Regions from separate parts of the Homo sapiens genome. Here all the other regions are linked to region 1. The links are contacts of gene promoters, found by promoter capture Hi-C in blood cells and fetal thymus (Javierre and others, 2016). All regions are on one chromosome and are shown on one strand. Each heading gives the region's core, a stretch centred on a gene start or on the middle of the fragment in contact. The rest is flanking DNA. Distances are from core to core; before and after follow the strand shown.

Evidence for each region. Contacts are between HindIII fragments. The CHiCAGO score rates a contact against its expected background, and 5 or more counts as called.
Region 2: a contact is called between a fragment that was not itself captured here and the fragment with the promoter of HOXB-AS2 in region 1, in 2 of 17 cell types (megakaryocytes and M1 macrophages). The highest score is 5.6, in megakaryocytes.
Region 3: a fragment that was not itself captured here is called in contact with the fragment with the promoter of HOXB-AS2 in region 1 in 1 of 17 cell types (M1 macrophages); the score reaches 5.4 in M1 macrophages.
Region 4: a contact is called between a fragment that was not itself captured here and the fragment with the promoter of HOXB-AS2 in region 1, in 2 of 17 cell types (M1 macrophages and endothelial precursors). The highest score is 5.3, in M1 macrophages.
Region 5: a fragment that was not itself captured here is called in contact with the fragment with the promoter of HOXB-AS2 in region 1 in 1 of 17 cell types (M1 macrophages); the score reaches 5.6 in M1 macrophages.
Region 6: a contact is called between a fragment that was not itself captured here and the fragment with the promoter of HOXB-AS2 in region 1, in 1 of 17 cell types (total CD8 T cells). The highest score is 5.4, in total CD8 T cells.

The regions. Positions count from the first base shown.
Region 1 is chr17:48,554,333-48,558,720 of GRCh38, reverse strand. It overlaps HOXB-AS2 (HOXB cluster antisense RNA 2), which reads right to left and starts at 2,564. Exons shown (of 2, transcript NR_046610.1): 1 at 1,363-2,564. It overlaps HOXB3 (homeobox B3), which reads left to right. Exons shown (of 5, transcript NM_001384749.1): 3 at 3,103-3,190. The HindIII fragment of the contact is 1,381 bases long and covers 1,304-2,684 here.
Region 2 is chr17:48,150,393-48,154,780 of GRCh38, reverse strand. All of the region lies in intron 11 of SKAP1 (src kinase associated phosphoprotein 1), which reads left to right. LOC124904018 (a long non-coding RNA gene) reads right to left here. Exons shown (of 2, transcript XR_007065827.1): 2 at 1,905-4,211. Among named protein-coding and RNA genes, the nearest start is that of MIR1203, 3.9 kb to the left of the region's middle. The HindIII fragment of the contact is 218 bases long and covers 2,376-2,593 here.
Region 3 is chr17:48,169,765-48,174,152 of GRCh38, reverse strand. It overlaps SKAP1 (src kinase associated phosphoprotein 1), which reads left to right. Exons shown (of 13, transcript NM_003726.4): 10 at 3,494-3,544. Among named protein-coding and RNA genes, the nearest start is that of MIR1203, 15 kb to the right of the region's middle. The HindIII fragment of the contact is 4,519 bases long and covers 325-4,388 here.
Region 4 is chr17:48,190,618-48,195,005 of GRCh38, reverse strand. All of the region lies in intron 4 of SKAP1 (src kinase associated phosphoprotein 1), which reads left to right. Among named protein-coding and RNA genes, the nearest start is that of MIR1203, 36 kb to the right of the region's middle. RefSeq lists an enhancer at 2,220-2,837. The HindIII fragment of the contact is 2,282 bases long and covers 1,068-3,349 here.
Region 5 is chr17:48,215,082-48,219,469 of GRCh38, reverse strand. The region is part of intron 4 of SKAP1 (src kinase associated phosphoprotein 1); the gene reads left to right. Among named protein-coding and RNA genes, the nearest start is that of MIR1203, 61 kb to the right of the region's middle. RefSeq lists an enhancer at 1-133. The HindIII fragment of the contact is 1,816 bases long and covers 1,515-3,330 here.
Region 6 is chr17:48,232,216-48,236,603 of GRCh38, reverse strand. All of the region lies in intron 4 of SKAP1 (src kinase associated phosphoprotein 1), which reads left to right. Among named protein-coding and RNA genes, the nearest start is that of SKAP1-AS2, 60 kb to the left of the region's middle. The HindIII fragment of the contact is 850 bases long and covers 1,692-2,541 here.

The sequences.
Region 1 (4,388 bases), core at 1,315-3,814:
CAAACTCCTCACTACCAGCCTTTATCCCCTGAAGTTTGAAAATCCCCTGGCTAGCAGCAACACCTCAGTCCAAACAGGGGCCCTTAGGGGTGCCTGTTCCACCCTCCGTCCTCCAGCCTCCCAGCCCTAATCAGAGGGCAGCCCGCCTGCTCGCCAGAGACCTCTGAGAATGGAAGAAAAAAGGCAAGACAGAAACTAAACTGGGATCTAATTGCCTCCCAAGTATTCCAAATGGGCTCTGTACTCCAGAATTAAGAAGCCCCCACTCCATCTCCTACCGCATTTGGGGGTATATGTCCTCTGAGATTTTCTCCAGGTTCATTTTCTTGCTTCTCGGTCCTCTTTTTCACTCCCACCCCACTATGCCCCACTGCCTTCTGTAGCCCGAGGGACCACAAAGAGTTGAGGAGGCTTGGGGAAGGGAGGGGTCTGCTGTTGTCTCTGGAACACTCCTCCACTCCCAGCTCAGCTCCAGGCCCGCTTCTCCTGCAGCCGGCCCGAGGCTGCCTGGGTGCCTTCTGGACTCTCGTGTTATTCCTAGAGGCAAAGCTGCGCAGTCCCAAAAGCGATCAGGTTCTCCTCTTCTCTCAGTTTTACAATGACCTTCTCTAACCCAATGATAGTAACAGCTAGGACAGCAGAGGTTTTGAGGTACATTCTTGGCTTTTTTTTTATTTGGGGGAGTGATAGAAAAAAAAACCCCAAAGGTACTGGTTTCTTTAAGCCTCTGGAAGCCTCCCTGGCCTGAGTCCCTGACCCACCAAGCTCAAAGTTACATGGGGTCTGACCCTGTAGGTCTCTAACCAGAGTGTAGAGATCTCAGGACAGACTTTTTGCAGCCACATGCTCAGGCACCCCTAACAGGTCTCTTTGGGGTTCCAGGCTGGCTTGAGCCCCAAGTCTAGGTCTGACTTGGATGTTTTATTTTCTTGATACTACTAATAAACACAGAAAAATACTAATAAACACAGAATAATAGCTAATAAACACAGAAAAATAGCTCCCACCCTCCATCCCCATGTCCCCCAACCCGTGCTTCCCCCCAGCTGTCAACTTTCTAGGTGGGAGGTGGGGTCCTCAGGACATTACATTCTGAGGCTCTGCAAGTGGCTTCTGTTGCTGGAGGGCAGGAAGGCCATAGGTACCCCCAGTTTATCAGGGCCCCTGGAAACCGGCTGCTCCAAATCACCTGGCCTGACTTAGCCTTGCCTGGAAGAAGTAGGGGCTGGAGGCCAGGGGCCACTCCCTATCTCATCCCAAAGTAGAGCCTGTGAGTGGGGAGAGAGAGGGAATGAGGGAAGCTTTGCCAGACACCTCCAACCTATGCTGGAGGGAACACAAAAGCTGGAAATCAACTCTCACCTTTGTTGTCCCCAGTCCCGTTCCCTCTTCTGGTGCATCCAGATGGGAGAAGGCAAAAGCCAAGTATTCTAACCAGGAAATCACAGGGTAGTGCCTTACATGAAGTTAAGAGGACCAGTTTTCCAAGCTGCCTTTAGAGAAAAGAGTCAGCTTTCTATTTCATCCCCTAGCTCCGAGTCAGCAGTTAGGCAGAGTTGCAAACACTCCTGCTTTGGGAAATGTCCTGGTGCTCTTTTTGTCTTTTCCTTCCTCCCGGAATGACTATTCCCCACCCCCTGTCCCAAATCTGCAGACACCTACATTTTTGGCTCCTGTCTTCCTCCTACAGGCCTCCTCCTTGCCTTTTCCTGCCCTGCTCAAACACACCCTAAGAAAACTTTAGCTTTTGTGGCCTTCCTCACTTGTGCCAAGAGTCATAAATCTTGCAGGGCAGAGAGAAACAAACAGGGTTGTTCTGAATAATAATAATAACCATCTTCCATCTCTTCTGCCAGTGCATTTAAAATTAAGCGACCCTGCTAGTTCTTCTCTTCTTAGAAGTACAAATGTCCTTATCACCTCTTAGCCCCTTCTGCCTATTCGGAGGTGAGAATCATAACAGAAACTTATCCATGAAGTTCTTTCAGCCCGTCTACTGCCAGCCAGTCTGGAGCTCAAACTAAAACACAGAGTCCTCCTTTTGTCACCCTTTTCTCAACCCTCCTCCCCCTGCAAGATGTTCAGAGTTTTTAAAATCATCACTCACCGCTTGTTGTCTGTTCTCAAAAAGAAAAAGGGGGAGGGGTGTTTTTTTTTTTTTTTTTTTTTTAAGTTCTGGTCTTTCCCTCTCCCTTGGTTAGAGACTGGGCCTGGAGACTGGAGGGAGATTTGGGAGGAATAGAGAGGGTGTAGTGGAGGGAAGAAGCCGGGGCTGGAGACTCAGAAGGAGGGAGCCAGAGTGTGAGGGTTGGAGACCCAGAACTACTTTCTAAAAAAGTCCTGGTGTTCCAATTGCGAATGAGTGCAGAGGGGCACCCGGCACCCTCACCCCCGGGCCAGGCCTGCCTTTGACTCAGCCTCCAAATACTACTTCTCATATTAGCATAATAGTTCACTAGTGGGGTATGGGGGGAGCTGTGAACTTCACCGCCCTTCCTTGCCTTTGCTCACCTCTTCCTCCCTGTCCCTCCAATCTAGATTTAAATTTTTACCTGTTCTTTAAGGAAAAAAAAAAAACCCTCCTTCTTTTCTTCTTACTCTTTTTTTGGGGAGGCGGGTATTTTAAAATTTCCCCCCTTCCCCATCACCACCATCACCTTCCCTCCTTATCAGGCATCTAAGCTTGCTAAAGGGGGAGAGGTGGGGGGGTGTGAGCTTGTGTGTGAGTGAGTGTGTGTGTGTGTCTGTGTGGTTTTTTTTCCCTGTGCAAAAGCAGAGGCCATTGTTACGGAGAGTAGGGCGTACCAGTCTTATAGGGCAACCACACTGTGGCGGCTTAGCCCTGCTGGAGCCCGGAGCTGGATTCTGGCGAGCTGAGCCGCCCGGCACCTTTCGGTCTTCTATTTTTTTTCCCGCTCCCCCACCCCCTCCCTCCTGCGCACCCCTGCTCCTAAGCCGAGTGAATTGAAGCGGACGCCGCGCGGCTCCTCTGGCCGGTCTGCCCCTCGGGCTCCCCAGCCGGGGTGGCTTTGCGGGGCGGGGGCGGGGGGGCGGGGGGCGACGCAGCTTTAAACAGTGGTCTTTTTTTCCTTTGCCTTCAAGGAGGGGAGATTTGTCGCCTGCCGCTCGCTCTGGGGCTCGATGTGAATATATATTATGTCTGCCTGTTCTCCCCTCGTCGGTGGCTAAGGTAAGCTGGACTGAAATAGGCTATCAGTTTGTGAATGGCGGAGAGTATGTCTCAATGATTTATGGCCCATATGACTCCAATCTCGGTTCAAGAAGAGTTCACAAGCTTTAAGCTTCCTTCCACGCAGCGACTCTCTCTCTCCCTCCCTCCCTCCCTCCCTCCCTCCCTCTCTCTCTCTCTCTCTCTCTCTCTCTCCCTCTCTCTCTCCCCTCTCTCTTCCTGCTTCTCTCCTCTTTTCTCCTCTCTCTCTTTTCTTTCAGCAGCCAGATCCAGGGCTGAATTTTCTCCGCGGCTGCTAAGAAAGTCTCAACCTTTCTCTGTCTTCCTTTCTTGTTATTTTTCTTTCTCCCATTAATTTTTTTAAGTCCTGGAAGATGGCCTATCCCCTCTCTCGGGGCTTCCCCAGCTATTGTTACTCTCCTGGCTCTCCCTGGGGTGTGCTTGGCAAGGTGGGGTTCTTGCGGGGGGCTCATCTCCCTTCTCCAGCGAGACCCTGGGGGGAAGCCGGCAGCCACCGTCTCCCTCCCTCCCTCCCGAGGAGCCATATGGAACCTGAATTTTTCCAACATGGAGGCAAGGGAAATAGATCTGTTTGGCTTGGTAGAGTTGTTCCCCACCCCCTCTTGTTCTGGATCCCAGATCTTGGGTCCCCTTAGCACCTTTCTCTCTTCCCACTGTCCCGTCCGCCAGGCCTCGGCGCCCTCCAACCCGGAGCCCTGCTGAGCAAAGTCCCGAAGCGGAGTTTCTAAGGCGCCTTTTAATTCGGTTACCTCCAGCTCCCAAAACTTGCTGCCGCCCGCGGGGCTCGGCCCTCGGCCGGCTGGTGTGCTGGGAACCTGCCTCCGATAACCGTTTTGGTGTCCTGATCGCTTGCTCTTCTTCGCCTCCTTGGGCCATCGTAGGTGGCTGGTAGCTTGTCGCCAGTCGCCGCGGCAGCAGCGACCGGCTGAGGCAGCCTGGCAGCAGCAGCCAGGGACTACCCGGGTGCACAAACCTTCCCAGCCCTGTCTGCACCACCGGCGGAGTCTCCATTCTTTCCTATCGCGTCTCTGGCTCCTTCGCTTTCCACACTCGCCTGGCCTCCGTCCCGCGATGGTTTGGGGTTTATTGCAAGGGGAGCGGCAGGAATTTCGGCCCCAGGCATCTAGTTAAATTATTGTTTTATTATTATTACTATCATCATCATCGTCATCATTAT
Region 2 (4,388 bases), core at 1,235-3,734, 400 kb after region 1:
AGCCAAGATAAGACTTAAACGCCCATTTTTTTTAAAAGCATCCTGTTCCATAAGTTATTTATGGTGGTAACATGAGCTGTTCAGAAGATAAGGACAAATTAAAGAGGGAAAGAGAAGCTCTTTTTCAATTGACTAGGAAGGAGAAGAGGCCACTGGGTGAGATCTTCCATTTAAGGTAAACTGAGCCAGTGTACATCTCTTGGGCTTGGGTTGTGTGCCTCATAAATTGGTCTGAGGCTCTTCCAAGGAATTGTCCAGTGCCTTATTTCCATGGAAAGCAGCCTTGGAGCAACAAGTTGGGTACGCATAAGATTTATACTTACACGGTGGCTTAGCTGGGGTGGGAAGGTATTCTCATGGCCCAGACACACCAGGGTCTGGGTCATCTTCCTTGCTGATGGAATTGATGTGGAAACAGGGAGCCATACAGACAAAGTCAAGTTTAGCGTGGAACACGTGATGCTGTCAGATGGTCATGGGTCTTATGTGGAGAAGAATGGACTTTGTCACCCTGGACTGCAGCTACTTAAACTCAGATGAGATCCTGGCTCCACAGCCAGTCTAGTCATCTGAATGCGGCAGGCCTGCGCCAGCACACCTGGACTATGTTAACACAACACTATGTCAATTATAATGGGAGTTTTAACCCGGTTTTCTCCACCTACTTCCTCAATGGGCTACTTAAAAGAATGGAGACCTTTCCCCTCCCTTGACCCCGTTCTTTCCAAAAGAGATTTGTATGTTGTAAAAATTATCTTAATGCAGCAATACTTCCTCTTTTAAGTGTGCTTAGTTGAATGTGACAACAACCCTCATAAAAACAGATAAGTTAATTCCTTCAATTGCCTTAAATGAAGGATTTTTTTTTCTTTTTTTTTTTTTTTTTAATTTCAGGGCTCTGAGGGAAAGGAGGTGTTTGGTGACATCTAGTGTCCATTTAGGACTTCCTCAGGCACCATACCCTCTGGTTGGCTGAGTGGGGGATGGGTGGGGGGTTATCTGGGAGGTAATTTAGGGGTAGTAAGTGGGGAGAATATAGGCCTGGGGCACAGGCTGCCCAAACAGTGTGATGAAACTGATCAATGCCTGTCAAAGAGCTATTATGCACCTCTGACCTAATCAAAGGGGTGGGTGAGGGGATCCTATGGCAAAGTATCTTTTCTTATTTATGATGGTATGCAAGAGAAGCAGAAGCTGTCCCCACCACCCCATTTCATGTTAACAAGCAGGTCAACACTGTGCTGTGATGACGAAGATGATGATGATGGTGTTTTCTCTCATTAATAACCCCTATGGGAGGCAACGGAGTTAGGAGGATGGGAATGGGATTTGGGGTCAGCTGGAAGGCAACGGTCATATACCGGTCAAATTCAGTAGAGGCCATTCCTTTCCCCCAGACAGGAACCAATCGTCTAGAACAAACCCTGGCAGCCTCATTCCTTCCAGGTAATTTTTATAAATGAGGGGACACCCATTCCAAGAGAGGACAAAAGGGAGAGGGTGTTTATGTGTGTGTGCATATGCATGCATGTAAACCTGCTAACAAGAGGCCCAGTTGCTCATCAACCCATCCTGCAAACCCTGACCATTTATTCTAAAACCCATTTTTTAAAAAGAGAATAAAATTGGCATTTTATTTTATTCTATCTATCTATAAATAGTCTAATCTATTTATTCCTAAACAGTTGTCCTGGACAAGACCTTTCACTTTTCTCTCTCTCTGTGTATGTATGTGTGTGTGTGTGTGTGTGTGTGTCCATGTGCACACAGTTTTCAGTTGGGGAAAATTCCAGACCAGATAATTAACTACGAAGCCCAGACAGAAACGTTTACCTAGAACCATATAAGCCACGGCCGGGTTAGGTTAATGCTCAGAATTGCCCGATGCTTTACAAACTCCAGTGTAAAAAATTCCAGCCATTTATTTTGCAGTGAATTTATAACAAATGCTGTTAACGTCTTCGTCTTTTGACAGAGGTAATAATAAATTCACTGTTAAAGATGGTAGTTTAATTCCTTATACCTCCAATACTGCACAGAATAAACCATATTCATCACTGAGTAATTTTTTACCACATAAATCTTTAAAACTAACCGGTGAAGGCTGCGGAAACTGAAATATTGTGAATTTATTAGATATGCCCATGTAGTATTGGATTCAGAGGTTTCCATTTGAATATATTATGGGGAAAATTTGTGTCTTTAACTGTGACATTCCCTCCATTTCCCACCGCCAGTATTATAACAAGCAGCTCCTCCAGAGTCAACTGCACATTTATTAGACAGAGATTTAGTAATAAACTCCCCACTAATCTGCCAAAGAGGCTGGATGACATTTTGGTGAGATGCCCTATTTAAAAGGAGTCACAAAAGCTTTGTTTCAGTATAATTATTTTCTCAAAAGAAACTCAGCCTCCCCAAACCTCTTCTGCCACCATTTCTTGGTATTGCGTGATTCAGCTCTCCAACCAAACTAGCAAAATATTGAAACAAAGTATAACCTCATTGCTAACATACAGGGCAGTAACTTCTATGGAGATTATAGGATTAGTTATGCAAGACTGAAGGTAATTGATTAGAACACAGAAAAGCTTAAATTTGCAGACATTCCCAGATGTATGGTATTTAAGGCTAATAAAAAGATCATATTGATTCTCAAATTAGAAATAATAGAAATGGTTTCAGAAAACTAGTTATTTAAAAACTTTCATCTTGACATATGAAACGTTAAAGATACAGTTAAATCCTCAGATTTGAACAAAAATCCTTTTACTCTACATATTAATTTTGAGTGAAAATCTGTACCTGATAGATGAGAATATTCTGAACCTTTCTCATGATTTGCTAGTGAAGTGACAATGAAACTAACCAAGTATATCAAATTGTAACACCCTCTCCAGTTTCATTAAGGAAACATTAATATTGCTAAAATGAAAAATATTTTTTTCTTTTAAATGCAGAAATGTTCATCATATTTAGCAAAGAGAGTCTGCAGTTTCTCTGTTCCTGATAATATTCTGTATTTGGGGAGAGTTCCAAATACTAAGAACTTACATGGAGCATTGTGAACTTTACCGTTTTTTAATAAAATTGGTTTCTAACTATTAAACAAAGGAGAAGAATCTCCTGGCAGTGCAAGGCTGTAGCCCATCCGAATAATTGTTAAAAGACAGAACCCAGCTAGAAAGATAGGCATAATACCAGCAATTAATATTCAGCATTTCACATTATAGTCAAGAGGATGTGTTTTTCTTTGTGATGTGGCTCATAAGCTAAGAGTGTTGGGAGCCAGACTCTGAACTGTGTCTTCTTTTTGTGGATGAGGATTAAGGAGGAAAAAAACAGCGACGACAATCCTGCTCCATCTGTAAATGAACAAACATCTTGATTTTATAGCTATTTGCTTTGTAAAACTAAGGAATGAAACAAAAATTACTGGATGCCTAAGTAACACTTTAATTCTGAATTCATTTACGCTATAGCTATGTAGTTGTCACAAACCATAATGCAGTATTTAATTAAAATAACAGAAGTGCATCTAGATATGTCCTGGGGTAGCTGTCACCAAATTATACTCTATGCCATCGGTATTTTATTTATGAAATGGCAGATTCTAAGGTGCAACTAGGCTGATACAAAAGCATGAACATTTTAAACTTGCATTTTTAGAAAGGCTCTTTTTTTTTTTTTTTTTCCTGCTGCGTCTTTAAATGTTTTCCTCCTTCTGTCTTTGGAAGGGGAGGGAGGTTAGTGTGATTGTTTAAAGATCTCTCTAAATCTTGCTTTTCAACTGTTGACCTCCTAAGTCTTCTGGCTGTGAAATCCCCGTCTGTTGTCATGGAAAGGCTTGCGAGGTTCACAGGAGCCACAGCAAGTGTGGGACATCTTAGGCAGAACTTGGACGTGGATTCCAGGAGGGTAGGGAAAAGAGCAAACCGTTTCAGACTCTCTGTGCCTGTTCCCACATAATCTTCCTTGCACCTTTTTCCACCTATAAATACCCGTTGTCGTGTACACGCTTGCTCGCTCTACTTTGTGGATGTTCACATGCAGACATACTGCTCTTTTTCATAAGCGCATAGCATCTATCTTATACGCACCCACCATCTATCTCCTTGTTCACATTGGCTGTCCCATCCACCTCCTTGTCTGCAGAATTATGTTCAGCAAGGTCCCGATTTATAGGAAATAAATAATGAAAATGGAACGGACTGGGAAAGATAATCGAAACATTCAAATTGTTATTTTTCACTGTACTTTACACAAACAGAGCATCTATAAACACCTAGAAAGGGTGTTGGCTGATCCCTACAAAGCAATGCCTTTTGAAACATTGTAACCAAGGGGGTCTCTACACCTTTCCTGTTCCTCCTCTCCTGCTTTTTGAT
Region 3 (4,388 bases), core at 1,335-3,834, 380 kb after region 1:
TTCTTTCTAGTTGATTCCAAAAGTGCAGTGGAAATCAAGAGTAACTGGTCTGGAACTGAACTGCATAGAACACATTTCTATTGTTCCATCTTTGTATTATGACTAGATTAAGTGCTGTTGCCCAAAAGAATAAAGGAATTAAGTTTTAGTTTTCATTTTTATCATTGCAAATACATTTACATTCTCCTATTTTACAAATGCAAAGAGCAGGCAAGCCACTTTCAATAATTTATTTTAAAATCAATGCTAATGAGGTTATGTCTCGTCAGTGGCCGAGTTTTACAATAAAGTCTGATTTATTTAGAAAAGATCTTTGGTGAAGCTTCCCATCTAATGGTGGTGGGAAGGAGGTGGAGTAGCAGCACTGTGACCCTCCAACTTCGGATCCAATTTGTAATTCACAGTGGAGATCTGACCCAATTTACATTGATTAGAATTGGGAGGAAGAGACAGCTGCGCACAGACAGCAGAGGTAGAATAAACCTCTGCAAAAGTGCCTAAGCACAGCAAATTATTGGTCTTTGTGATGGAGTTGTTTGATATCAACAAAAGAGCTGCTCTCTGTCCAAATTATTGGGTATCTCTAAAACTGAGGTTGTACCAACTTTTCCTCTAATGTTTCCAATCCTAAAATTAGTCCCATGTCAAAAAAGAAATGCATCATAGCTGAGAAAGGAAGGAAGTGGACGAGTAACGAGAAGACAATGTGCAAAGAATGTTTAATGTGGTTTATTTCAGCATGATCTGTTTCCTATATTTGATTTCACTCCTCCATTAGCTTAGGTTGTTTTATTCCTCGTGGTAGGGTTGAGGGAGCACTACAGGTGTCAAGTAGAACATTCTCTGCTGCTAGATCATACATGGCTATAAGAACTGTTGAGTCAAAGTGCTCCTTTTCCCATACTATATTGTAGGGCATATATATATATATTTTATTTCCCAGAGTATCCGTCCTTTTTTTTTTTTAGAGACAAGGTCTCGCTCTGTTGCCCAGGCCCAGGCTGGACTGCAGTAGCGCAATCATGGCTTACTGCAGCCTCAAACTCTTGGGCTCAGGCAATCCTCTTGCTTCAGTCTCCCAAGTAGCTGGAACTACAGGTGTGCATCACTGTGCCTAGCTAATTTTTATTTTTATTTTTTATAGAGACAGGGTCTTGCTCTGTTGTCTATGCTGGTGTCTAACTCTTGGGCTCAAGTGATCCTCCCATCTCAGCCTACCAGAGTGCTGGGATTACAGGCATGAGCCACCACACCTGGCCATATCAGTCTCTTTCTTACTTGAAATCAATTACTCCTTTAATGCTTTATAGTATTCTAATATATTTTTATGCTGCTCCTTCTTACCTATGAGCTTGGAGCTTACTTCCCCAGTTTGGCATACCGGAACTCATATTGCCCTATAAACATTACATTTAAAAAAAGAAAGAGAAATGTCAAAGTTTCATTTAGTGGCAAAACTATGGAGAAGCAAGACAAGCAAATGTCATTAAGACTCAGGAGAAAGGAAAGTAAATGTGGCCAGGAGGAGCTGAGTATTCAGCCCTCAAAACATTGCTTACTATACCCTATCTACTGTGCATATGTGTGTATATATGTGTGAGTGAGAGAGTGGGAAAAGAGCATGGTGGTAGTGAAAAGAATAACGAGTGTATTTTTCTTCACTTTGCCCCATGTATAAAATAGCTAAATATGATTCTGGTACACATATTTACATTATAAGGGTCCAATTCCTATTTTATCGGGTAATGTGACGAGATGAAACCGGTTAATGGGAGTAAGAAACTTAGGCCAATTATGTTATGACTTTGACCGTATAAACATTTGACTGGAGTTAGACACTGGCATTGAGTTAGAACCCATTGTGAATCTACGGCAATTAATTAAAAGACCATTCCAGCTACCCTCAGGAGCTTATACTCTAATGAACAAGACATGCTGAATAAAAACAGTAAAAAGATAACTACAAGCCCCAAGTACTAGGAACATAAAATTATGTACATGACCAGCCTCCATTACAGCTGAACAAAGATGGATACATTAAGGATTAAGGACTAATTAATCAAAGAGGGTTTTTTGTTTTTTGTTTTTTCCCCAGGACAGAGTCTTGCTCTGTCACCCAGGCTGGAGTGCAGTGGCACAATCTCGGCTCACTGCAACCTCTGCCTCCTGGATTCAAGCAATTCTCTTGCCTCAGCCTCCTGAGTAGCCGGGGTTACAGGCGCCCGCCACAGGCCCAGCTGATTTTTGTATTTTTAGCACAGACGGGGTTTCACCATGTTGACCAGGCTGGTCTCCAACTCCTGACCTCATGATCTGCCCGCCTCGGCCTCCCAAAGTGTTGGGATTACAGGCATGAGCCACCGCACCCAGCCAATCACAGAGGGTTGTTCACACACACACACACACACACACACACACTCTAACATCCTAACTCTAGAATGCTTAAAACTAGAGAGAATGCTTGCATAGAGATAATAATTTTGAAGAGAATTCCAGAGGGAAGGAGAAATGGAGTTTGAGGAAAAGGATTAGGATTCTGGTGATAGACATCTAAATAATCCAATGGACTGGAAGCTCCACAAGGGCAGGAACTCTGACAGTCTTGTTTATTGCTTGTCCCCAGTTCCTAGTGCAATGTCTTGCATGTAATGAGCACTTCAACATGCTTATGAATAAATGAAAGGGAAGGGAAGGAGAGGGCCAGTTTGAAGGTGACAAATTAATATTTTTTTTAAGAACACAGTAATTGCCAGGCACGGTGGCTCACGCCTGTAATCCCAGCACTTTGGGAGGCCAAGGTGGGCGGATCATCTGAGGTCAGGAGTTTGAGACCAGCCTGATCAACATGGAGAAACCCCATCTTCACTAAAGATACAAAATTAGCTGGGCATGGTGCTGTGAGCCTGTAATCCCAGCTACTCGGGAGGCTGAGCTACTCGGGAAGAATAGCTTGAACCCGGAAGGTGGAGGTTGCAGTGAGTCAAGATCACACCATTGCACTCCAGCCTGGGCAACAAAGAGTGAAACTCTGCCTAAAAAAAAAAAAAAAAAAAAAAAAACAACAGTAATTAAACTTTCCTTAAAGAAGAGAGTATGATGAGCTCAGAGAAAGGGGACCTTTCCGTATAAGGAACATGAGACTGACTGGCTGGACGCAGTAGCTCACACCTGTAATCCCAATACCTTGGGAGGCCAAGGAGGGTGGATCACCTGATGCCAGGAGTTCAAGACCAACCTGGCCAACATAGTGAAACCCCATCTCTACTAAAAATACAAAAATTAGGCGTGGTGGTGGGCACCTGTACTCCTAGCTCCTCAGGGGGCTGAGGCAGGAGAATCCCTTGAACCCCAGACGTGGAATTTGCAGTGAACCGAAAATCGTTCCACTGCACTTCAGCCTAGACAACAGAGCAAGACTCTATCTCGAAAAAAAAAAAAAAGAACATGAGACTGTGAACCACTAATTGCTAATACTGATCATTTATCCCCCCAGATGAAGAGCATGATCTAGAAGAGGATGAGAGTGGCACTCGACGAAAAGGAGGTATAAGAGCTTCTAAATGCACAGGCACTGGGTAGGACATTATGGGCTTCTGATTAGAGAAAGCACCTTTCTCTGAGACTACAAAAATTACTGAACTCAATAATTAAGAGGGTACCTGTGTGTGAACCCCAAAGCCCTAAATAAAGTGACTGGGTAGGGAAATACCTAAACTTTAAAAGCAGCCATACATTCACTTTAATTAATGTTCCCAGAACAGCCAAGATTTATCCTAGAGCGGGTGGGAAGCCAAACCAGACATTTATTTTTTCCTATCAATATTTCTTATATCAGTACAGTGAAAATAGAATTGCCTCATCTCTAAGAGATCAGAGGATTGAGAATGGAAAGAATGGAAATGTCTCCTCTCTGAGAGGCCCGGAGATTGCAAGTTCAGAGGGGAATGGAAATGTGTCAGATCTGAAAAGTGAACACAGGGTGAAAGATAAAATTCCTTGGTGATGCTGACTTCTGATAGCCTGGTTTGATTCCAGGCACATTTGGAAATGAATATGTAACAGGTTTGTTGAATATAAAATTACATCTTATTCATCCCAGACTGTTAACCATGCTTCAGGCTGTTAGTGAGCCCATCCTTTCTAAGGTCAGATGCCCCTCTGAAGCCTCCTTAAGTGGACCAAGGACCTATTCCATGGTTGTCAGTAAAGGAATGCTGCACATTGCAAGGGCCACCTCAAGGACATTCGTTCCGTCGGCAGAGCCCTAATCATGACTGATTTAGATACTGGCTGATATTTTTCTTAGGGAGTCTATGAAAATCTTAAGCCTAGGAATTCTTGCCCTCTTTCCCTCCCTGCTCCTTCTCCATTATCTAGCCCTGTCTTTT
Region 4 (4,388 bases), core at 959-3,458, 360 kb after region 1:
CACACACCAGCCATCTGTGACTGCATTGGAATTGCAGGTGGAATTTGACCATTCCCAGCCTTCAGATGTTAAATTTTCTCCAATCTCATACACCCAATCCCCAGGTTTTTTACATGAGTACTTTAATGAAGGATCCTGCTAAACTTCACCCTGTCTGAAATTCACCCCTGTTAGCTATTAGTCTCTAGGCTCAAGTTGGTTAGGTCCCTCTTTTAAACAGTTGAAAAGAACTTGAATTAAAAGGAAGAGGGAGGATGGGAGAAGTCCATAACTTAACAGGGGGACGATTTGAACAAAAGATGTTTTTTAAAAAACTATTTATTTTCCTTTCAGGATGATTTAGCAAGAGACCAAGCCAGCTGCCTATAATGAAAGTTAGTGGGCACCTGGTTTGTTCTGCAGGGGCTGCAGCCTTTTTGCGTGGAAATTGTGTGGCCTCCTGTGCTATTAGCCTTGTGCTCTGGTGTTGCCAACTGATTTCTCCAATTCTCTTTTCTCAGTGGGCTAGAACGCAGCTGGTTAAATAGGCCGTGACTCACATAAGCTCTCGTGTCTTTTTTATTGACTGCTTTATGGAAATGTATCACACTCCAAAGGGTCCCCATTGTTGTTGCTGTGCATAGCTGACTAAAGAGTCATGTTTAGCATTGAGAGATGGAATCCTATTCTGTCGTTTTTTATTGCTTTTTTTGATGTGGGTGGGATACAAGGGTTTAAAGGAAACTAGATGAAGAGAAAGATATCTGAGAATTTCTTTTATCTTCATCTGCCATGAAAGTTGGGTGGCCATCACTTCTGGGTAACATACTTCTCTGTTGATCTTATCTTTGTGGCCCCATATCCTTCAGCTAAGTGAATCTTTTCTTTATACGGGCTGTTCTGAGAGGTTTAGTTAAGTGTAGTGGTAGGGAGAGATTATGACACTAATGTAATTCTGTTTTGTGCTGATATAATGTAATACACCTTTAGACTTAGCCAAGAGGGCCATTTATTCTCAATAAATCAAAATCATTTTTATTTTTTCATGACGGTGGTGATATCTTTTCTCAGGTAATGAATAAAAAGCTTCTTTTTTTAATTGTATACTTAAATATAAATTGTTTGCCTTAAAATAGCAACTTATACAATTGTTTGCAACTTCTTCCTATTTTTATAACCGTCCTTTAAAGCATATTTTACATACTTTCTATTATGCATTAAGTAGTTCTCTGCAGATCTGTTCGTTTACCAGTAGGTGTGGATCCAGGCATACAAGATTCCTGCCTCATCACCCCATGGCATGGCTAACACTGTTCATCCTCAGGATCACTAGTTCTTGATCAGTAGGACCCTGCGCTGACACTGAAAGAGGAGGTACCTTGCATGCCACTGTGGATTCCCACCTTGGTTATTTGGATTTGTCAGATAGATCATGGAGCTAATGAGATTGAGCTCAGAGCCAACTACATTGAGAACAACTCTGTTATTGAACTCACCACACAGTACCTTGTACACAGAAGACAGTTAGTAGACTAGAGACTGATCTGACCTCATTTCCTAATTTTTTTTCCGTAGACATTCTAAACTGAGCCTATAATCCCATTTTTTCCCACTGCCCATAAGGGGAACCAGGCAAGAGAATTCCTCAATACAGATTCTGTCTAATGAATAAGAAAGCAACATAGACCGGGTGCGGTGGCTCATGCCTGTAATCCCAGCACTTTGGGAGGCCGAGGCGGCTGGATCCCCTGGGGTCAGGAGTTCAAGACCAGCCTGACCAACATGGAGAAACCCCGTCTCTACTAAAAATACAAAAAACTATTCAGGCATGGTGGTGCATGCCTGTAATCCCAGCTACTTGGGAAGCTGGAGCAGGAGAATCGCTTGAACCCGGGAGGTGGAGGTTGCAGTGAGCTGAGATCACACCATTACACTCCAGCCTGGGCGACAAGAGTGAGACTCTGTCTCAAAAAAAAGAAAGAAAGAAAGCAACATAACACATCTTACTGACTATACACAAAAACACACCATATAAAAAGCTGTTTCCAGCTCTATTCCTTTTCAGAATCTTGTTAGTGAATGACCAAGAGAAAAAATTCAGCAGCTCCTTTGGTACCCAATTTTAGCAAACTGAGTTTGACTCTTGGGGAGAGAAGGTGGTGATGGTGCTATCCCTTGTCTCCTAGAATTAGTGACTTAGAGTTACATCTCTGCTGTATTATGTCTTTGTTTCCTTAGTGGTGGCATTCTTGGGTTTCAGTTGGTGGGGAGAGAAAAACCTCATGCTGATAATGTACTGAAAGTAAATGAAATTAAATAAGCGAAGCAGTGCTCATCACTACTTCCTCCCCCCTGGGTAATTCAATTCAAGCTCTCTCTCTGATGGCAACTCACAGGGGCTGTCTCTGTCACCCCGCTGGGGCCTGGAGTCTTAACATCTAAATAAAAGTTTCACTCAGGCATTTTTTATGCTCCTGCCAGCAGGATCAGTGAGCTGGTGTGGGCACATTAATGTAATATTCATACTCACAGACTCTCCCTGCACACGAGGCAATGTCTTCCCATTTTCATAATTATAGATGTTCCATAAAATGGCATTTAAATTTGCATTAAAAAAAGGAGGTTTGAATTCTAATAGAACGTTTAACATGTCTTTTATGATTCAGACTCTTGGCATCTTTGACAAGGAGCTGTGTCTCTAAGTTTAACAAGACCTTTAAAAAGAAAAGAAAAAAAAAACCTGTGGAAAGAAGAGATGGAAACTCCCAGCTTATGGGATCGTGTTTTCCTCATCTCCCTATGTCTTTCATTTAATTTTTAGGCCTCCAGGAGCAATTTTTTTTTTTAAGAGGCAGAGTCTCGCTCTGTCCCCAGGCTGTTGTGAAGTGGTTCAATCACAGCTCACTGCAGCCTTGAACTCCTGGACTCAAGAGATCCTCCTACCTCAGCCTCCAAGTAGCTGGGACTACAGGTTTGTGCCACCACACCTGGCCTCCCCAGGAGCAATTTTTTGACAGCACTTCAGAGAGCCTTCTCTTCTGTAACTGGTCCTCACCCCACTCAATGCCTCACCCTCAGTAGAATCTGCTACTGTTTCCTTGGAGGGTGTTTTCAGAGGGGTAGGAGAAATGAAAGAACCCTAGAAAAATGAACTTTCCTTTGCTGCTGTTCATCTCATGCGTGCACCCTGAGATTGATTAAAAGGATTTATGGCAACCACATAGTTTGCTAACTGTGAAACACACAAATAAAAGTAGTCCATGAACAAGGAGGTTAACAATAAGGACCAATTGGATAAAAAATCAGGCACATAGACACACTTAAAAACAGAAAAAGAGGCTCTTCTGATCTACCTTTTTATAACTAAGCTTGAAACAGCTTTAAAGCAAAATGTAATTTTGATTGCATTTTAAATTGTCGTAGATGTTATTTTAAAACAAAAAGTAGGAAAAGCACTGAGCAAAGTGCCAGCTCATAGCCACCATTGAATAAATGTTATTGTAGGAAATGTTCAAAAAACAATTGTTTGAAAAAAAGTTATTTCAACCATAACTCTCAAGATACTCTATAGGTGGCCCAGTTGATTCATATGTAGTTATGCCTTACTTTGTTTTGTATTTGGTTTGCTTCATAAATTATTTAAGACAATCCAAAAGAGATTTGAGTTCTGGGACTAAAAAGAATAAATGTTAAAATACCGCTAGCCCAATTACCTTCATTTTGCCTAATTAAGAAATGTGGAGTGTGTCCTTAAAAGAGGCTTTTTTTTTCATTCTTCTTTCATTTTATTTTTTGAGAAGTAAATTCCTTCTTTGTCTCCATCCTTTGTCCCTCCCTTCTGTGAAGTAAGTATAAACCCCAGTGGAGGAAGATGGATTAGGATCTTGACTTCTCAATAAATTTGTACCTAACAAGGCTAATTGAAAGCCAAGAATGTTAGCAGCATACAATTAAAGGCTGATGTAAGTTTCAGGGTATTATTTGTGAAGCCTTTTACAGTTCTTAGATTCTTTCGCATACTTTTTTTTGTTTGTTTTGTTTTGAGACGAAGTCTCATCCTGTCGCCCATGCTGGAGTGAAATGGCACGATCTCGGCTCACTGCAACCTCCGCCTCCCGCATTCAAGAGATTCTTGTGCCTCATCCTCCCGAGTAGCTGGGATTACAGGTGTGTGCCACCATGCCCGGCTAATTTTTTGTATCTTTAGTAGAGATGAGGTTTCACCATGTTGGCCAGGCTGGTCTCAAACTCCTGACCTCGTGATTTGCCTGCCTCAGCCCCACAAAGTGCTGGGATTACAGGCATGAGCCACTGGGCCCAGCCTCTTTCTCAGACTTTTAAGAAATCAGGATTTGACAGTTATTGCTAAGTTCAGCTTGCATAGCCCTTCTTCTATGAACTTAAAAAAA
Region 5 (4,388 bases), core at 1,173-3,672, 340 kb after region 1:
TTGCCTTGAAGTGTTTTGAAAATACTAACCAATAAACAGTCATATTAGAAATAGGCAGAACTGGTGCTTTATTTGAGGCTGGACATATAAGAGTTTCAAAAAGGTTTGTGGATGATAATTCCTCTCCTTTTGTCAGCAAGAAGTTCAAGTTCAGTGGCCAGTTTTTTTGCCAATGAGAAGTGAATAGTACAACTGACTTTTAAAATCAAATGTCACATTCCACATGGTTCCCACCTGGGTTTTAGTTTCTCAACAATGGAATACAATTTTCAATAAATCTAGAGATAAAAATTCTGCCCAAGTAACCTCATTAATATTGAGGGGACTCTTCTCTATTGGAAATCTGTGTGTTTTGTTCAAAAAATTGGAAGCAAAGAACTCTTTCAGGTTAATTCTAGAGATTCCAAAATTAAACATATACTATTAGATAAATACTAATAGGAAATTAGGTTGTTATATTTTTTCTATTTCTCTTTCTTAATCTGCCTTTCTCTTTATTCCCACTGTAAAATGTGTGCATGTTTATTCCTTTCTACTCTTCATGTTCTGATTTCACATGGCCACCCCATGAGGGTTTTTTTTTTAACAATCTGAAACCCCCAAAATATTGAATTATTATGGAAACAAGGTGCAGTATTTCAAGCATCACCCTACAATAGAAGTAACAGGATAATGATTTTCTTTCTCAGTTCAGATATTAGAGGCCCAAGTATTGATTGCCTGTTTCTTTTGCCTCCTGTGCTCTGATGAAACTACACTTTTGACACAAAGTCACAATAAAATGTGCCCTTTCCAGTATGAGATCTCTGTAAATGTCATTCACACAGTCATTGTTTTCTAATTCTTTGCATTTTCATCAGAGTAGCACACAAGCTCTTCGTTGAGTGGAGACAGAGCAAGCAGTGTTTAAATTTAGAATTCACTAGAACAACCAAGTTCCATTATTTTGCTAAGGACAGTTACAGTCTAATAATAGGACTCCTTTTCCATAGTGTTTATGAAATTATTATTCTTAGAATTGATTAAGTGATGAGGACTTTGATAACTAGAGGTTTCATGAAATGCTGTTGGGAATATTGATGTTGGGTTTGCCAGGCAAAGAGAGGTTGTAAAATCAGTGTGAATGTCAGTGTTTATGGATGAGAAGGGTTGGTTGGTAACATAAGCTGAAGCCAAGCTGGAGACCTAGAGGAAATGGCTGCTTCCCTAACCCAACTCTGCCAGCTAGTCTTCCTCCTGACCTGCAACATTCTTACTGTCTCAGCCCCAGGTCTCTGATCCTAGCTGTTAGCAAATGATTTGTGATTTTGTTTAAGGATAAATATCAGTGGTAGCCTAGCTTGAAGCCACCAAACTCATTTCATTTGTGCCCTGCACCAAATCTGATCCCAAAGGTGGCAAGCTGGCACATTAACACAATGTGATACTTAGTACCTTCCTCCTTCTCTATGAAATCAGTTTATCCAACAATATCTCATACAAATGACCTGCAAAAACAAGCCATACACAAAGCTTTCACTAACATCTTGATAAATGTAATTGGTGCACCTATGGCTTTTCAAGATGTTCCTATGCTGTGACCCTCTGTTTCACATAATGTAGCCTTTTAATTTATTTCCAATAGCTTCCCAGTCAGTCAGCACTGGCATCCTTTTTCAAACCTCAAATCATGGTCTGATAATCCATTTTGGTGCCTTTATTAGCCTCAAAGGTAGTTTGAGCTGTTAAAATTTTTTTTTAACAAATTTCTTTTGGATAAGAGATATTGCAGTGGACTCCATATAATTTTTACCTTTACCTAACCTTTTCTTATTTATTTATTTAGAGACAATATCTTCCTCTGTCACCCAAGCTGGAGTGCAGTGGCACAATCTCAGCCCACTGCAGTCTCGACCTCTTGGCTCAAGCTATCCTCTCACCTCAGCCTCCCGAGCAGCTGGGACTACAGGTGCACACCACCAGGCCAGGCTAATTTTTGTGTATTTTGTAGAAATGGGGTTTTGCCCTGTTGCCCAGGCTGGTCTCAAACACCTGAGCTCAAGCAATCCACCCATCTCGGTCTCCTGCAGTTTTTATCTGGCACCATTGCAGCTGATCCCATCTTGACAGCAATCCTACTGGAAATCTATTCAGAAACCCCTCTTCTGTTCATCTTTGCATCATCCTGTCTGGGAGATAAAGTTACCCAGGAGACCACTGAGAGGGCAGGTCTCACTCTTTTTTCTTTTTGCTTGCTTTCTATTGATTGTCCCTAGAAGAAAGGTAACTGATTTAAGGGGCCTGAAAATGATTTGGACAGACTATAAAGAAAATAAAAATGAGATCAGTATGAAGAAGTCAATACCACACACCTTTTTCAAATTTGACAAAAACATTTAAGTTCTGAAATATTTCAGGTAAAAAAATAAAATATGTGATAAGAGAGAGGCTTACCTGAGATGTACTTTAGGAAATCTGGACTTCACTTCTTTCTTATATTCCCCCTTTTCACTCTCAACACATGAAACGCTGAAAATGGAATTTTTGCTTCTTGTATTAGAAGAATTCAACATTTAAATTTCTTAGAAAGTTTTGAATCTGATACTTATAATATTTGCCAATCTGTCCATGAAAGAACATGCATTCTAGAGAATGTCTGACAAAAGAGAGGGCAAAATTTTATCTCTTATGAATATTCAGGCCAGGTGCAGTGGCTCACACCTGTAATCCCAGCACTTTGGGAGGCCGAGGTGGTTGAATCGCTTGAGCTCAGGAGTTCGAGACTAGCCTAGATAACATGGCGAAACCCTGTCTCTACAAAAAATACAAAAATTAGCCTGGCATGATGGTGTGCACCTGTAGTCGCAGCTACTCTGGAGGCTGAGGTGAGAGGATCCCTTGATCCCAGGAGGTGGAGGTTTCAGTGAGCTGAGATTGTACCACTGTACTCCAGCCTGAGCAACAGAGTGAGACCCTGTCTCAAAAAAAAAAAAAAAGTATATTCACAGTATTGGGTGCTTGTGCAAAGTGGACATAGGGTACTTAGTTCTTAAGACTTATCAGCAATATGTTATTTCAATTTCATAAGCAAGTAAGATAAATAGTGGCTTTGCAGTTATCACACACTCTATCAATGGGATGTTGTCAAGATAGAATCTCAGTTGTAAGCTCTCTATTCAGAGTCTTGTCTATAAAGTTGTATTGCTTCTATAACTCAAACAAGATCAAGTTGTAGCTGGCACCATTTTCCTCAGAGTAGGAAAGATATAACTGACTCCTGTTTAAGAAATGTCAAAAGTCACCGGAATTCATACTGCCAAGAACAACATGTGTGTGACATGTTGCTAAGCTTCCCTCTGCAGGTTTCCCCTCTGTGTCAGTGGTATGAACCCAGCAGCTCAGAATGAGGTAATTTCACAAAGGTGGGCATGTTGAACCCTTATGGCATCCTTCAGATAATGCATAGGTCAGAGATGGAATAAACAAAGCAATATGCTGAAAGCCAGCTGTTTAAGTGAGGAGGAACAGGCCTGGGAGTAAAGGGCTACATGGAGGATTGCAGTTAGGCTCAGGGGCTCTCCTGAAAGGTGAGCTTGCCCTGTTGGTGCTTATCTTACACAGTGAAAGGAAAGGAGGAAAACTGTCTCCAATTAGAACCAGGGAGAGCTGGTGATGCTGGGGCTGCCTCTATCTAAACCCTGATCTCATACTGCTTCCCTGTGGAGAATTATCTGAACTGCAGCTTCCCTCTGTGGGCCCCTGCCTGTCATGTCCATCCAGTGTGGTCTCGAGCCTGGACTTGGTATCATCCAACAGCAGGAAAAAAAAAAATTTCTGTTAAGAACCTTAGCAAAAAGAATGGGGAGGCCATGAGAAAATGGTCTTCTCCTGAGTCCAGAGTCATATCTCACAACAGGCTGATCTGACACGTCTGCATCCTCACCCTTCCCTTTTTACATACCTTTTTAAAAAGCCCAAAGCCTCCGTCTGCCCAATGGTGTTCCTTCGGTTCTGCTTTCGCAGATATATGTTGTGGCTTGCACCCTGGGGAATTCCAAATCAATTGTTAAAATTCCCTACTATTTCCCTGAATATTTTTCACAAAAGCCAAATCACAAGGCTATGGCCAACATAGAGGTTTCCACTTTTATCTTTTTATAATTATTATCACAGCTTTCTGCTTGTCTTCCTCCATACCCACCCAAGGAAGTGTAGACATAGGCATTAACAAGAATACCCCTACCCTTCAGCTACCCTTCTTCAGAGGGCATTAGGGCAATAAAACACATTTTAGATATAGATCTATAGCTGACTATTTCATTATGATATAAAAACAGTACTGTAGGAACATTACAGTTAGTATGGTGGTTCAATTTTTTTATTTCTCTATAATTTAAAAACCAGAGGCC
Region 6 (4,388 bases), core at 867-3,366, 320 kb after region 1:
AGTCTCACAGCATTTTATAAATTGCCAGATTTACACCAAGTACTTTAAATTTGTTTATGTAATCTTATTAAGTGATTAAGTAACCTAATATGATAGAGAAATTTATATTTGGGGATTGATTACTTTTCATTCATTAATACAAGGAATATTTATCAAGAACCTACTGTGGTATATAAACCTCTACATAGTGTATATTCCAATAATAGTAATGTAATATTCAAGATTTGGAAACAATTACCCTCTCTGTGCTCCCAAAGAATCTCGTAGAAACCTTAATACAAATGATAAATTGCATTATAGTTATTTGTTTACATTCTGTCCCCTTCTCCTCTAGACTGAGTTCCTTCACAGCAGTTATTTTACTCATCTTTGTCTCTCCAGTACCTAAAACTTTGAAGGTGCTCAGTGTATGTTTATTGAATAAGTGAAGGAATATCGGAAAGCATTTTCAACTTTAAAGAGCTTTGCTTAACCTTGTTAACTCTATGTATGAATGTATTTTTCTCCCTTGACTTTGAAATGTTACAATCATCACATCCAGTGTAACTATTTTTAAAAGGCCCAACATCTTTTCAGATGGTTCCTCATGAATTTTATCCTTCAAATTGTGTCTGCCACTCCACCCAAAATCCTGGGCTGGCTTTCCTCTTAAATCAATGGATCATTTCTCAAAGAAAAGCAAGTGTGGTCCCTTGAGCTACATACCAGACTTGTAGGAAAGACAGATCTTCTAGTATTCTCTGGTATATTTGACTATAGGCTCCTGATGAGTAAAGCAGGAGAAAGAGCTATGATTACTGGTCCAAGTACAAGCAAGACTTGCCTCTGGGTGATGTTATTCTGGGAGTGGAATAGCATCATACACTTGCTAAGTTCTCAGCACTGTGAGTTGGAGTTGGGAGGTGAACACCAACATTCTTTGCCATCCTCAGCTTTGCTGCACTACTGAAAGATTTCATGGCATTAAACCTCTCTCATGCTTGTCCTACTTTAACACAATTTCCAGCAGCATCTTGGATATTCTTCTATTGTCCACTTATCAGTTACCTTAGCACAGAATGAAATGACTGTGTCTGCATTCAGAGTTTTGTTGTAGTTGATCTTGTTCTGCAGTTTTCTACTAAATGGAGTCTGTGAGCAACTTTGATGAACTCACTAAAAAAAAAAAAGTGAAAGCTAACTTTTGAGGCTGTTCAAACTTGATAGTTGTCTAGCAAGTTAGGACAATTTGTTACTTTATGGACCTTCAACCATGGTGATGCTGAATGCTCCATGGTCACACATTCTGTGGTGTTCCCTAAGTATACACATTTATGTTCATTTCTCACTTTCTTTGTAGATCTCTGCCACCTCCCTATCTTCAGGTCCCTTTGCTGCTCATTCCCCTTTTATATATCAACAATACCAGATATTCCCCACTTTTCCACATCTCTCTTTTTCCAAATATTGTTCCATTAGTCTTAGAGAACTCCTATTCATCCTTCAAAACCCAGCTCAGTCTTTGTCTCCTCTGTGAAGCCTTCACATATACACACAAGGAAAAACGTAACATTTCTTGAGCTCCTATTAGGATTCTCATGCTAGGAACTAGTTCGATACTTTTACAAATCTTGCCTTGCTTTATCTTCACAAAGCATTTTAAAATACATTGAGATCTCCATTCTCAAAACATAAAACCAAGGCTAAAAGCTTTATGGCAAGCAATTGAAATATCCAGAATTTAAACCAGGGTCTGCATGATTTCAAAACTCATCCTTGTTCTGCCATATCATGCCACCATAAATCTCCTTTATTCATTTTGTATTAATGCATACATTTGTAATTTTGCTTTTTACTCATCACATTCTGTGGTTATTTATTTGACTGTCTTTCCTACCAGAAAAAAAAAAGTGCCTTGAAAATAGAATGTATTTCTTATTTATTTTGGTACCCCCACAGATCTCAGAACATTACCTGACATATAACAGATGCTGAATAAAGGTTTCCAGGGTTGGATTGCATCTGATTAAAATTAAGTTGAACTGAACAACATATTACCTTGAATTTCAGAATTTTGCATTTCTGATGATATCTGGGGCTCAGATGCCATTTACCTCATGCCAGATGACACATGGCCTCAGTTTTCTTCACAGGTGTCCATGTCTAGCCCTGTACCAATTTCATCCTAAACAACTGCCCATATTCCCATTAATGTGACATAATCATTAGCATATATAAGTTCCTAGAGAACTGCTTTCTATCTCATGTCTTTATTGTAGTCAATGGAGTATACTCAGTCTTTTAGGAATAATTAAAATATTCTGTGACTCTAATTAAAGTAGTCTGGATATTTTTAAGAAACCTATATTTAAGAACAAGCTGAGGGCTGACATCAAGTTAATTGTGTTATTTTTAGTGGAGCTATCATTGGAGACAGCAGCATGGCACCCAGTGCCTTTTTTTAATCCTCATATCTGAATATAAAATGTTAAATAACCAGCATCTTGAGCTCTTAAGAGGAAAGGCATTAAAGCATAAATAAATAAAGCTGTTATGAAAGCTTAGAAAATTATCTAAATGCACTTGAGTAAGAAGTCATGTACTTATTAAATTGCTAGTTATAGAGATAAATGCCCTTAAACCTTTCACTGCCAAAAAAACCAAACACTCAAACAACTTGGAACTCTTGTCATATAAGCATGGGGGATGCAGAGAGAGAAGCTGTTGGCTTGTATTTCTGCCACTCTAAGTAAACATTTTTTTTTTCTCAAGACACAGTCTTGCTCTGTCACCCAGGCTGGAGTACAATGGCACAATCTCAGCCCATTGCAACCTCTGCCTCCTGGGTTCAAGCAATTCTTCTGCCTCAGCCTCCCTAGTAGTTGGGATTACAGGTGCGAGCCACTATGCCCGGCTAATTTTTTGTATGTTTTTAGTACAGATGGGGTTTCACCATGTTGGCCAGGCTGGTCTCGAACTCCTGACCTCGTGATCCACCCACCTCGACCTCCCAAAGTGCTGGGATTACAGGTGTAAGCCACCACACTTGGCCAGTAATCTTATTTTACCCATATTTTATACAATTAGTACAGTAAAATTTTATAGTATTATATTTTATCTGTTTAAATTACAGACTATTCTTGTTTTTACTAGAAGTCAGAATTTGTCCCCTTCTTTCTAGTTCCATCACCAAACCTTTGCCAAACAGGGACAACACAGTTCAACAAAACCACACATTCTAGCACTGCCATCCTTTCTCTTTTCTATTGATGTAAAGAATCATCAATATTTCCTTTTAACACCCTCCTTCACCTTAATCTCAACTGAACATTGAAACCCATTGCAAAGTAGCCCCATTTAATTTTCCATAGCTGAAATTGAGTTTTTTCAAATGTGAGATCCAGAACTGGTGACCTCCCCAGATTGTGGTACCCATTAGCCACAACTGCCACAGAGTTCCTATTGGAGATGGAGCATTTCTTTTGTAAAATTTACTCAGGAGACACTTGCCAAACCAAGCTCCTCTAGTATCTTGCTGTTTTCCATGATCAGGATTGGCAGAAATGCATCTCTCGAAAACAGTCCAGGCACAGTGACTTATATAAGAACACAATCATGGTTATGAATATCCACTAGACATTCTGATTCTGGATAATCTGTGAACCTAAGAAAAGGAAGATCAAGCAGTGAATTTATTTGGAAATAATAGAACTGTTGGTTGGGTTTTGTAGGCTGAAGTTCTGTAGTTAATCATTATTCTGCGAAATCCTGAATGATGTTGTTTGTAGCTTTCCTATGCAGGCAGTGTCCCCATGGGAGTCCTACTAACGGTCTTTTGTCAGGCACTATCAGCAGTATTGAGCCAGCCTGAGCACCCTATTATTAATCCTTTTCTCCTAGTGACATGACAGCAATCGATGTCTGAACAAGCTATTGAAACTGTAGCAATCAAGTGGACTCTGGTTAATCCAATGGGATACTTACTCAGAGCCTACGAGAAGGGCAGGGAATTTTTTCTAACTCCATACTGTTCCCATATCCATATACTTTATGCTGCCAATATTTGGGTAAAGGCTGACATTTACCCAGGCCTGTAAAATACACAATGGAACCTTTACCGTTGACTCAAATACATTTGTATCACCTTTACAGCCATCTGTTACTTCTGTAAATAAACTTGTGATCATTATATAAATATTTGTGCCCATGTAAATGTAAAGCAAGAGCATTGAAATCTTTACATAAAAAGGTACCCACCTGGTGGTATCTTTGCACTCATAGAAATCAATCAGCAGTTACAAAGAATAGTATATAGAACACGAGACTATCAGATTTCCTGTCCCTTATTCCAGATGGAAAGAAGTCTAAAATGGTGGTGCCCAACCTGGCATACAGATTCCTGAGTCCCA